2 separate regions of the Homo sapiens genome follow, and region 1 is linked to region 2. The links are contacts of gene promoters, found by promoter capture Hi-C in blood cells and fetal thymus (Javierre and others, 2016). All regions are on one chromosome and are shown on one strand. The core of a region is centred on a gene start or on the middle of the fragment in contact, and the rest is flanking DNA. Distances in the headings are between cores, read along the strand shown. Region 1 has its middle 22 kb from the start of ACBD3-AS1. Region 2 holds the start of MIXL1 (Mix paired-like homeobox).

Evidence for each region. Contacts are between HindIII fragments. The CHiCAGO score rates a contact against its expected background, and 5 or more counts as called.
Region 1: a contact is called between a fragment that was not itself captured here and the fragment with the promoter of MIXL1 in region 2, in 4 of 17 cell types (megakaryocytes, endothelial precursors, naive B cells and 1 more). The highest score is 5.6, in megakaryocytes.

The regions. Positions count from the first base shown.
Region 1 is chr1:226,122,826-226,128,654 of GRCh38, reverse strand. It overlaps the pseudogene LOC112268255. Among named protein-coding and RNA genes, the nearest start is that of ACBD3-AS1, 22 kb to the left of the region's middle. RefSeq lists enhancers at 3,153-3,447, 5,682-5,829. The HindIII fragment of the contact is 2,467 bases long and covers 2,700-5,166 here.
Region 2 is chr1:226,220,170-226,225,201 of GRCh38, reverse strand. MIXL1 (Mix paired-like homeobox) reads right to left here and starts at 1,538. Exons shown (of 2, transcript NM_031944.3): 1 at 1,128-1,538. The coding sequence starts at 1,520. It overlaps LOC124904528 (a long non-coding RNA gene), which reads right to left and starts at 3,063. Exons shown (of 2, transcript XR_007066907.1): 1 at 2,978-3,063; 2 at 2,704-2,863. RefSeq lists a silencer at 820-1,114 and an enhancer at 1,160-1,219. The HindIII fragment of the contact is 11,005 bases long and covers 1-5,032 here.

The sequences.
Region 1 (5,829 bases), core at 2,684-5,183, 99 kb after region 2:
GTGGCTGGAAGCGGACAACATTGTGCTGGCTGCAGCTCATTCTTAGTGGGCAGGTCTTAGCAAGTCGTGTCATTCACAGCCCAGTTAAAAGATGTACTGGGCCGGGCACGGTGGCTCATGCCTGTAATCCCAGCACTTTGGAAGGCAGAGGTGGGCGGATCACCTGAGGTAAGGAGTTCGAGACCAGCCTGGCCAACATGGTGAAACCCCCATCTCTACTAAAAATACAAAATTTAGCCAACCGTGGTGGCAGGCACCTGTGATCCCAGCTACTCAGGAGGCTGAGGCAGGAGCATCGCTGGAACCCGGGAGGCGGAGGTTGCAGTGAGCCGAGATTGCGCCACTGCACCCCACCCTGGGCAACAGAGCGAGGATTCATCTCAGAAAATAAAACAAAAAGTTGAACCAAGATTGCAAAGTTCCCTTCCAGCTCCAAAACTCAAGCCAGGGGCCCTGTGAGACTTTCCCGGAAGTCTGGGCCCTGAGGTTGCTGAGGGCGCTTCCATGCAGGTGCCGCTTCCATCCAGGAACTGAGCTCTGCCCTTCCGTTTGTTTGTTCACTTCACTCCTCCCCTAGAGGCTGAAGTTGCTTCTGGGAAGGAGGCTGGGCACTTCTGGGCTGAGCCTTGTTTCCATAGCACCCAGCCACCCTGCCAGGAAGACACAGGTTTCTCCTGGTTGACTGTGAGAGGACTTTGACCCGCGCTCCGTTTCCTGCTGGGCCAGACTTAGGAGGAGGTACCGGGGCAAGCAGCACAGTGGGACTTGCAGGTCCCGGACCCAGCCCTTCATTCAGACCAGTTGTTCTGGAAGTTTGGGCCCCAACCAAGAGCAACAGCAGCAGTATCAGGAAACTTGTTAGAAATGCAAATTACCGGACCCCACCCTGGACCTACTAAATTAGAAACTCTAGGGTGGGGCCAGCCATCTGTGTTTTTGTAAGTCCCCAGGTGTCTCTCATGCACACCAAAGTTTCAGAAACACTTTATGCATTGTGTGCATGTGTGTGTGTGTGTGTTTTCTTTTTTTTCTTTTTTTTTTTTTTGCAGGATTTGACAGAGTCTTTATCTGGCTTCTGTTACATCTTATTCTGACTCAGGTTTACGGACACAATGCTGGAAAACCAGTTCCTGCTCTACCCACGCCTCAACTTGTTAAGAAGAAACAGTATCTAACACCGAGGCACGTCACATCTTCGCCATTCCCACTTCCTTTCTGCCCTAGGCATTCAATGTATGCCACCGGGGGCCATCAGGACTAGGGCTCTGCAACCACGGCAGCAGACAGGTGTGAAGCTCAGAGTCCCTCCTAACAGCCTCCCTCCAGCGTCTTCTTGGCCGCGGCGGCGAAGCAGCTCCGCAGGGCCTCGAACTCCCGCGCGCAGAAGTCCTTACTCGGCCCCGCAGGCGGCCAGCCGCTCGGGGAAGGCGCGGAGGCAGCTTCGCATGCGGCCCCACACCGCTCCGTCAGCCGACATGAGCGGCTATTCCCAGCGCCCCTCATGTGTGTGTTTTCAAAATGAGGTTTTGCTCTGTCACTGAGGCTGGAGTGCAGAGGTGCCATCATAGCCCATTGCAACCTCCACCTCCTGGCCTTAAGCAGTCCTCCTGCCTCAGCCTCCCAAGTAGCTGGGACTACAAGTGTGTGCTTGTTTTTTCTTTTGTAGAGATAGGGTCTTGCTATGTTGTCCAGGCTGGTCTTGAAGCCCTGGGCTCAAGCAATCCTTCCACCTTGGCCTCCCAAAGCACTGAGATTATAAGCATGAGCCTCCATACCCAGCCCAAGAACCCCCACTTTATTGTGTGATCAATTGTTCCAGTTTGCCCAGGACTCTCAGTTTTAGCACTGGGACTCTCTCTTTTTTTTTTAGACGGATTCTTGCTCTGTCGCCCAGGCTGGAGTGCAGTGGCGCGATCTCAGCTCACTGCAACCTCCACCTCCCAGGTTCATGCCATTCTTCTGCCTCAGCCTCCCGAGCAGCTGGGACTACAGGTGCCCGCCACCACGCCCAGCTAATTTTTTGTATTTTTAGTAGAGACGGGGTTTCACTGTGTTAGCCAGGATGGTCTCGATCTCGTGACCTCGTGACCCACCCGCCTTGGCCTCCCAAAGTCCTGGGATTACAGGCATAAGCCACCGTGCCCGGCTTTTTTTTTTTCTTTTTTCTTTTTTTTTTTTTTTTTGAGACAATCTCGCTCTGTCATCCAGGCTGGAGTAAAGTGGCACAATCTTGGCTCACTGCGACCTCTGTCTCCCGTGGTTCAAGCAATCCTCCTACCTCAGCCTCCCAGGTAGCTGGGACTACAGGTGTGTGCCACCATGTCCAGCTAATTTTTGTATTTTTTTGTAAAGACAGGGTTTCACCATGTTGCCCAGGCTGGTCTTGAACTCCTGAGCTCAAGCAATTCACCCACCTCAATCTTCCAAAATGCTGGGAGTACAGGCATAAGCCACCGCTCTCACCCATTCATTCAGTTTTTCAAAATCAGATCTGAGCTCCAGTCCTGGGAGCCTGGGGCAGCTTCTGATGCTAGGAGAGGCACAGGCCTGGCTACCACCATGGGTAGCAGAGGAGTGGGGTCAGCTCTGAACTTAGGAGAGTGATAGGAGGGAGAGGAGGCTGGGAGAGTAACAGGAGGGAAGGAGGGAAATTCTGCTGCCGCCGCCGCCGCCGCCGCCGCCGCTGCTGCTTTGAAGCTTTCCTGGGTAAATGGTGACAAGGACCACAAACCTCCTTACCTGGGCGAGAGCTTTGGGAGGTTTCAAAGCACCTTCACTTACATCACCCTACTGGATTCCAAATTACTCCTTAGAGCAGTGCCCATAAGAAATACTGCATTTGTCCAGTTTCTATTTCCTCTGCCTGAGCTTGAGCTGCTTTGGTGGCAGGGACCATCCCAGTGTCCCCATCAAACCTTCAGTGCCCAGTAGACAGAACCCTTGCCCAATCTTCCCGTCCAAATCCTGCATCTTCTGCAGGAGCTAGTTCCTCTGCAGGTCCTGGCAATATGGAGCACAGGGTCCATAGTTTTCCTCCCACCTATGGATTTCCTCTGGGCCATCACAGCCTGTTCCACAGACTGAATTTCAGCTCCCTGTCTTGGCCAGGGCACATCCTGTCTAATCACTCATGTTCACCCAGCTTTGCACCCTCTTCAGCCTCCCCACGTTTAAGCGAGGCAGCTGGCGGTGCAGGAAGAATATTCATCCATCTCCTAGGAGCTCAGGAGTCAGACCCTGGGCCCAGACTCCTGCAGCAAGTCGGGGCTTCTGTCACAAGCGCCTCACCTTACTGGCTTTGGCGCCATCTAGTGGACGCATCTGGGTCTGCGGGGACCGCAGCCCTTCCTGTGACCCAGAAGCAAAACCAGCAATTTACCTGGCCGTACATTATTTTTGAGTCCCGAATCCCAAGAGTCCACTCCCAACCCAGCTCAGCATGTATTGTCCACTGCCTGCTTAGTGCCGGACCAACACACCTTCACCTCACATCAACAGGGACTCAAACAGAGCCTCTTCCCCTCAAATCCCAGCCCCATACTCAACTGTGTGCACAAAAGCAGGCATTCGTCCTAACAAAGCAGAATGAAACAACCCAAACTTCCCTCAAGATGGGGAGCATGCATTCTACGGAATATTATGAAATGGATAAAAGGGTTTGCTGGATTGGAAACGTCTCCAAAAGCACATTAAAGAACAATACATACCGCATGATGCCGTTTATTGGAAGAAACAAACCCAAGCCTGATCCACTGTTCGCATATCCGTGTGAAATGCAGAGGGAGGGCTGGACACACACCAAGCTAATCACAGGGACCTTTAGGGAGGGATGGGGGTGGGGTAAGGGTGAAAGAGGCCTTTCCTTTTACACACCTTTACTGTGTATCTTTTTATATTTCTAAGGCAAAAGGTAAATTAAACAACCCCTGTGTTAAAGGTGGAGAGTGTCCAGGTTCTTGGCATCTTGAACAAAGAATTGGAAGAGACACACAAACAAAGCAAGGAAGGAATGAAGATTTTATTGAAAATGAAAGTACACTCCACTGTGTGGGAATGGGCCTGAGTGTAGGATTCAAAAGGCCCTGTTACAGAATTTGGGGGAGTTTAAATACCCCCTAGAGGATTCATTGGTTACTTCGGGTATGCCCTATATAAACAGAGAGGATGAAGTAAAGTTACAAAGTCATTTACCTGATATGCCCTATGGAGAGGATATTTCCGGTTATAGCTGAAGTGTGAATGAGCCTTATGTTCCCTGCCTCCAGACCCTATTTTCCTGCCTCACCTGGTGCCAGGAGCTGAGTCGCTGCTGCTCTCCCAGGTGCTCCATGATGAGCAGTGCTGGCCTTCTGATCCGACTCTCCCACACCCACACCAGCTGCCTTCCTGAGCCACCAGGCTCCCCAGTGGTGGCTCCTCTCCTTTGACGGCCTTGTCACCTCTCTGCAGTCTCTTCCCCTCACACCTGGCCGCTGCAGCCCCTCAGTGGTGAGCATTCGGTGGGCTGATCAGCATCCGCACACCGCTCCTAGTAAGGGGCAATCCCCATTTTGTGAGCTGTCATGGGAGCCAGGGCCCCTCCTCCCACCTCAAAGGCTAAAGGGGGCAGCATTCCTTCTCCCTTCCTGGGCATCTGGCTAACCCAGGCAAAGATGCAGGGACAGGAGCCCTCCCTCCCCGCTGTGGTGCCCAGCACCCCCGCCCATCATTACAGCCAATGCCTGTGGAGTTGTGGCAGGGGCTGCATTCAGCGATGCTGCAGCCCAGTAGTGGTGGTGACCACAGTCACCTCCCAAGACTGTCCCCGGCTGTGGCTGTGGCCATCCAGACTCCTGGTCAGCTCCCTGAGCTCCCCACAATACTCCCAAGGACTCCTTTTCTACTTAGTCATCAGGGTTGATTTCGATTGCTGGCCACCTCCCTTTGGGCCCTGGCCAGGCCTGTGGAGCTAGTCCTTTCCAAGTGTCACAGGTGAGTGACTGTGTGTGAGGGACAGCGGGTCAGTGTGATAGATAACCTGTGGTCCACATAGGGAGATGGTGCCATACCAAGAAACTGCCAGGACCGAGATGTTAAAGAGTCAGGGGATGTGACTTGCTAAAGGCAACCACGGGAGATGACTGTGCTGGGAAGATGGTTTCAAGAAAACTGGGAACCTAGGAAGCTTGGTGAGCACCCACTTGGACCTTCCCTGGCCTGGCAGGGCCTCCCCTTGGAGGGATAGCCCTGCAGCTTCCCCATCAGTGGGCAGGCTTGGGGAGGGCCTGGAGAGGAGAGGGGTCCCCTAAACACACCCAGCCCCAGGGCCTCAGCAGACAAGTGCTGGTCACCTATTATTTGTACTTATTGTAGTAAACAGTCACTTTTAGGCTGGGGGCTCACGCATGTAATCCCAGCACTTTGGGAGGCCGAGAGGGGCGGATCACTTGAGCTCAGGAGTTTGAGACCAGCCTGGCCAACATGGCAAAACCCCGTCTCTACTAAAACTACAAAAAAATTAGCCGGGCGTGGTGGCGGGCGCCTTGTAATCTTAGCTACTGGGGAGGCCGAGGCAGGAGAATGGCGTGAACCCGGGAGGCGGAGGTTGCAGTGAGCCGAGGTTGCTCCCCTGCACTCCAGCCTGGGCGACAGAGCGAGACTCCATCTCATAAAAAATCACAACAGTCACTTTTATGAGCAGTGCTCATTTCACCCCGCCTCTACCACACACTCGGCAGGGCGGCTTCACAGGTGCCCTTCCTGCTGTCTGGGACCCTTTGCCAGACTCCTCCCCACCTGGCCACCCTTCTTTCCAACCAACAACGTGGCTCCTCGGTTCCTCCAGGTTCC
Region 2 (5,032 bases), core at 289-2,788:
TAAATTATGAAGAAAACCTGTTTTTTAAGGTCTGCACTCCCTTGTCAAACTAATCAAGGAGGTATTTTGCTCATGCCAGCTGTTGAGACTGACAGCTGTATGACCGCCAGGGGTGCAGAGAAAACAAGTCCACTCTCCCAGTGTTTAAATGAGGGCTGCTACTTAAAACTGCGCTTGGACACCGACCACGGGGCTACAGACAGACAAAAAGGCAGGCTTCTCCTTACCAACTCTAAGATTCTGATCTAAATTACTTTAGATAATAAACACGGCCGGGCGCGGTGGCTCACGCCTGTAATCCCAGCACTTTGAGGCGGGTGGATCACCTGAGGTCAGGAGTTCGAAACCAGCCTGACCAACATGGTAAAACCCCGTCTCTACTAAAAATACAAAAATTAGCTGGGCGTGGTGGCTGGCGCCTGTAATCTCAGCTACTCGGGAGGCTGAGGCAGGAGAATCACTTGAACCTGGGAGGCGGAGGTTGCAGTGAGCCCAGATCGCGCCATTGCACTCCAGCCTGGGCAACAAGAGTTAAAACTCCATCTCAAATAAAAACTAAATAAATAAAAATAAACACACCTTGCACTAGATTTTTCAAACTGAAAACAAGCTCCAGGTGCTTCTCGCTTTATCTCAATTCGCTACATCCTTTCAAATCTAATCCCAAAACGTAACACTTGCCAAGAAAGTAGCATGGGGGTAACTTGGCGAGCCAGCCTTCCCCGTTTTCAGCTACCATTCTCACGCTCAAAGCCAGAGGAAAACCCCAACTGCCCCTCATCTGTGTCTTCTTCCCGGATAAAGAAAAAGTGTAAAACTTCTTATCTTCCTGCTGGGAATTACTTTCTGGCCATTTCAGGGGACCGGCTAGCCTCCTAGGAGCCCTTATTATATTTAATAATGAGAGAAATCGTTCAGTGCAGGCCTAAATTATTTCACACAGGCCTCGCAACCACCCTATGCAGCAGGTGCCGATATCACCCCCTATTTCAGTCTAGTACGCAGAGCCTCAGGGGAAGCACCGTGCCTGCAACGTCCCGGGTGTGGCCTCAGGAGCCCGCAGTCCAGACCTAGAGTCCGCAGCGCCTCCGCTCCAGCGCGCACTTGCGAACGCAGCGGGCCCTCACCTGGATCCTGGACTCGGGGAGCAGGGTGAGCGCGGCCAGGCGCTCGCGCAAGTGGATGTCGGGGTACCGGGTCCGGCGGAAGACGAGCTCCAGCAGCTGCAGCTGTTCGGCGCTGAAAGACGTGCGCTTGCGGCGCTGCGACGCCGACGGGGCGGCCGCGCCTTTGGGGGGCGCAGGCGAGCCCAGGCTGGCGGGGGGCGGCGGGGCCGGCCCGGGGTCCCGGCCGAGGAAGCCCGCAAAGGTCGCTGGGCCGGGGCCCGCGGGCGGCGCAGGGAGCAGGGCTGCCGCAGGGCTCGGGGGCGGCAGGAGCGCCCCGCCGGCGTGGGGGGCCCGGTACGCTGGAAACGCGGCGCCCTCGGCAAACTGGAGCGCACGGGACTCGGCTGTGGCCATCGCTCCGGAACCCAGCGCGCCGCTCGGAGGGGCGCGGGCCGCACTTATACCCTCCCGGGCCAGGGGCTGGGAAGGCGGGGCGGTGCGATCAAAGGTGGGCTCGGGGAGACCCGTGTCTCCTCCGGGTGCGAGCCCGCCCCCGGCCCCGCCAGACGCCGGGGAATAATCGCTTCCGCCGGCTGCGGGATGCAGGAGGGAGGCGTGAACTTGGGTCCCGGCCCCCTCCGTGTTCTTCCCCGCCCACCCGCCCGGACGGCGCAATCCACATCCCCGAAGGACTATTTGCCTGGGAGGGGCAGCCCGGAGGGGCCCGGGTGCGCGGGCCGCAGGCGACAGAACTCTCTTCTCCGGGTCAAATCCCCGTTAAGAGCGGCGGAAGCACCTTGCCTGGCCTGTGCCTTACATGGCCTGGGCCTTGAGCCTTGCCCTAGTCCCGTCTGTCCTCATCAAAGCTATTTATTTACCACCCCTGCTATGTGCTAGACCCTGTACCAGGTTGGTCAAACAGCCCGGCCCCTGTCTTCTGCAAGCCTCCCTAACACATCCTGAATCCAAGCGGGGAGGGGGGTGAAGATAAAGGATCCAGGGGGCAGCACATTCCTCCTGATTAAATGGGTGGGGGGAGTGGGGGGGTCTGGCTGGAATGTCCATGGGCCCACCAATAAAGATACCCTAGGTAGGGCGGGGTTGGCAACGTGCCCCATTAGCAGAGGATACGGCGCAGTTTGGCCTTTCTGGAGATACTCAACAATGCTTAAGACCCGTCTATTGGATGGGAGGAGATGAAAGCCACCTCATGAAGTTTCCACGCGCCCTGAATCATCATTCTTTCCTCTGCCCCTTGGGGCTCTGAAAGCTCCCATTTTCTCTACTTTGTGCTATGGTTATGGTTTCTCTATCTGCTAGATATAAAGTCTTAGCAAGCAGGAACCCACCTCTCCCTTTCTGAGTTTATTGAGTGTCTGCTTTGTACACCTATTCTGCGTGAGGCGCGGTGCTAGGCCCCTTAGTGAATGTCTGTCGAATTGGATGTCACTGAGCTCTCCTTATTGAAAGAGAAACCCATGGTCCACTATGGGAACTGCCCCACCACAGTGCAAGAACTCAAGAGAGGAACACAGAGGCCCAGGTCTTTTTGCCCCCAGCACCTGAGCGCTGATTTCACCGGGATCACTCACTGTGGTCGACTCAAAGGGAGATCTTTATTGGGAGGATCTTTCAGGGCACAATCCCCGTCCTGTCTCTGCATTCTAGAAGGTCAAAAGACAGTCTCAGAAGAGCTTGGATCTTTTTATCCTGGGTGGACATTCCAGGTGGCAAAGCGGAAAGTTTTCTTGGAGCTGCTGCAGAGAAGAATTTTGGGCTTGATTCTCTCCTGGCTGTGGTAAGGGGTGGGGTTGGCAGGGACTGTGTCCTGTGTAGCCCCTGAGGCCCTTCTGGGCAGCTGATATACTTACCTCCTGCTCTTCCATCTTCCTTCCACCCCTTCTCCTTTCTTTCCCCCTCTTCTCTTGGTTGCAGTGAGCCAAGATTGTGCCATTGCACTCCAGCCTGGGCAACAAGAGTGAAACTCTGACTCAGAAAAAAAAAAAAAAGTTAATTCCCCAGCATCTCCAAAACAGCCAACATCCATTGGCCAGGTGCAGTGGCTCATGCCTGTAATCCCAGCACTTTGGGAGGCTGAGGCGGGCGGATCACCAGGTCAGGAGATCGAGACTATCCTGGCTAACACGGTGAAACCCCGTCTCTACTAAAAATACAAAAAAAAAAATTAGCCGAGCATGGTGGTGGGCACCTGTAGTCCCAGCTACTCAGGAGGCTGAGGCAGGAGAATGGCGTGAACCTGGGAGGTGGAGCTTGCAGTGAGCTGAGATCATGCCACTGCACTCCAGCCTGGGTGACAGAGCGAGACTTCGTCTCAAAATAAATAAATAAATAAATAAATAAATAAATAAATAAATAAACAATTATTAGCCGGGCGTGGTGGCACAAGCCTGTAATCCCAGCTACTCAGGAGGCTGAGGCAGGAGAATTGCTTGAACCCGGGAGGCAGAGGTTGCAGTGAGCCAAGATCGCGCCACTGCACTCCAGCCTGGGTGACTGACTGAGACTCCATCTCAAAAAAAAAAAAAAGAAAAGAAAAAGAAAAAAGAAATTACTTCTCCATGCGAGTGGATTTCCCATTTCACTTGGGATTTTCATTGACTAGGGTTGGAAAGATAGAAGTCATATTGAGTTTCTACAAAAGCACTTGAAATTAAAATGATTTGCTACTTCTCTTCTTTGACAGACACTTATAAACATATAAATGGTTTTCACTATATCCAAGTTCTAGATTCCTGACTCAGTTACCCTGCTGCAGGCATACAATGGATATGTATATCACATATCCATTTGCTAATTCTTCTATATTCAGTTTTTCAATAGGAAAATGGGAAGAGCCCTATCCTTGGCAATATAATTTTTAAAATAATTATTGCAAGTTATTTTCCCAAAACAGATACCCTGTGATGTATAAAGCTCCATAAAGTGCTTTTTTTCTACAGAAGCACATCAGCTGACCAGCTCCAGCATAGCAAACTTAAGTTCAGGGTTAGCTGAAGACAGCAATCACTGAGATTAGGATCTGGATTCCTCCCTCTCCAGCACCTGGGCGAGCTCACCACTTGATTTGCTGAGAGATTTTGGCCATTATTTACATTTAGTCTGTCAGTAACTTGAAATAGACACAAGGGAAGGCAAGGTGAAATAGAAGACAATCCTCAAGGATGCTTCCTGTATAATGAGGGAAGACCAGTAAATACAAGAGGCAGTAGGGAAAAAAAAACATGATTATCTGGATCCAGGGCCGGTTCTACAGCAGCCCAGTCTGGGCAGGATGGGGCCACTTGGGGTCACTGTCCCGTTCTGCGTCCTCAACATTTCCCACCACGGTTCCTGTCACTGAATCACCCAAATATCACAGAGGCCTGTCTTTCCTCCCCAAGTGCTAAGTACTCTCTTCCCCGGGCTCTCTTTGTTGTTCAAGTCAGGCCCTCCACTGCCTAAGACCTGGCCGAGATCCTGGGTATTTATTAAAGGGAAAACCAGGAAAAGACAGCCGAGGGGAGTTGACGGCTCTGCTTCCACCTTGAGATCCGCAGCGCTGTTTGCCCCTTTGATCCTGGCCTCACTTTGATTTCCTCTCCTCTGGCTGCCCAGGCCTCCACAATTCCTGAAGTTTATTTCAGAACCAGTGGTTACAACAGACTGAAAGACAACAGCCCCCAAAAGGTATTAATGTGCCAGGAAAGTGATTAAATCCCCTCGTTAAGAAGCCTTGTTTGTTGTTGTGTATTTGGCACCATATACATTCAAAAACTAAGCACACAATAGATGCTGAACCCAACGTGTATTTTAAAATAGTGATTCCTTTTCTTCCTCCCACTATTTTTGCCTGAAGCCTCGTCTCACACAGAGGAGTCTTTTGCAACCCCAATCCACACAGTTAACCAATAAAGTTAAAATAACAT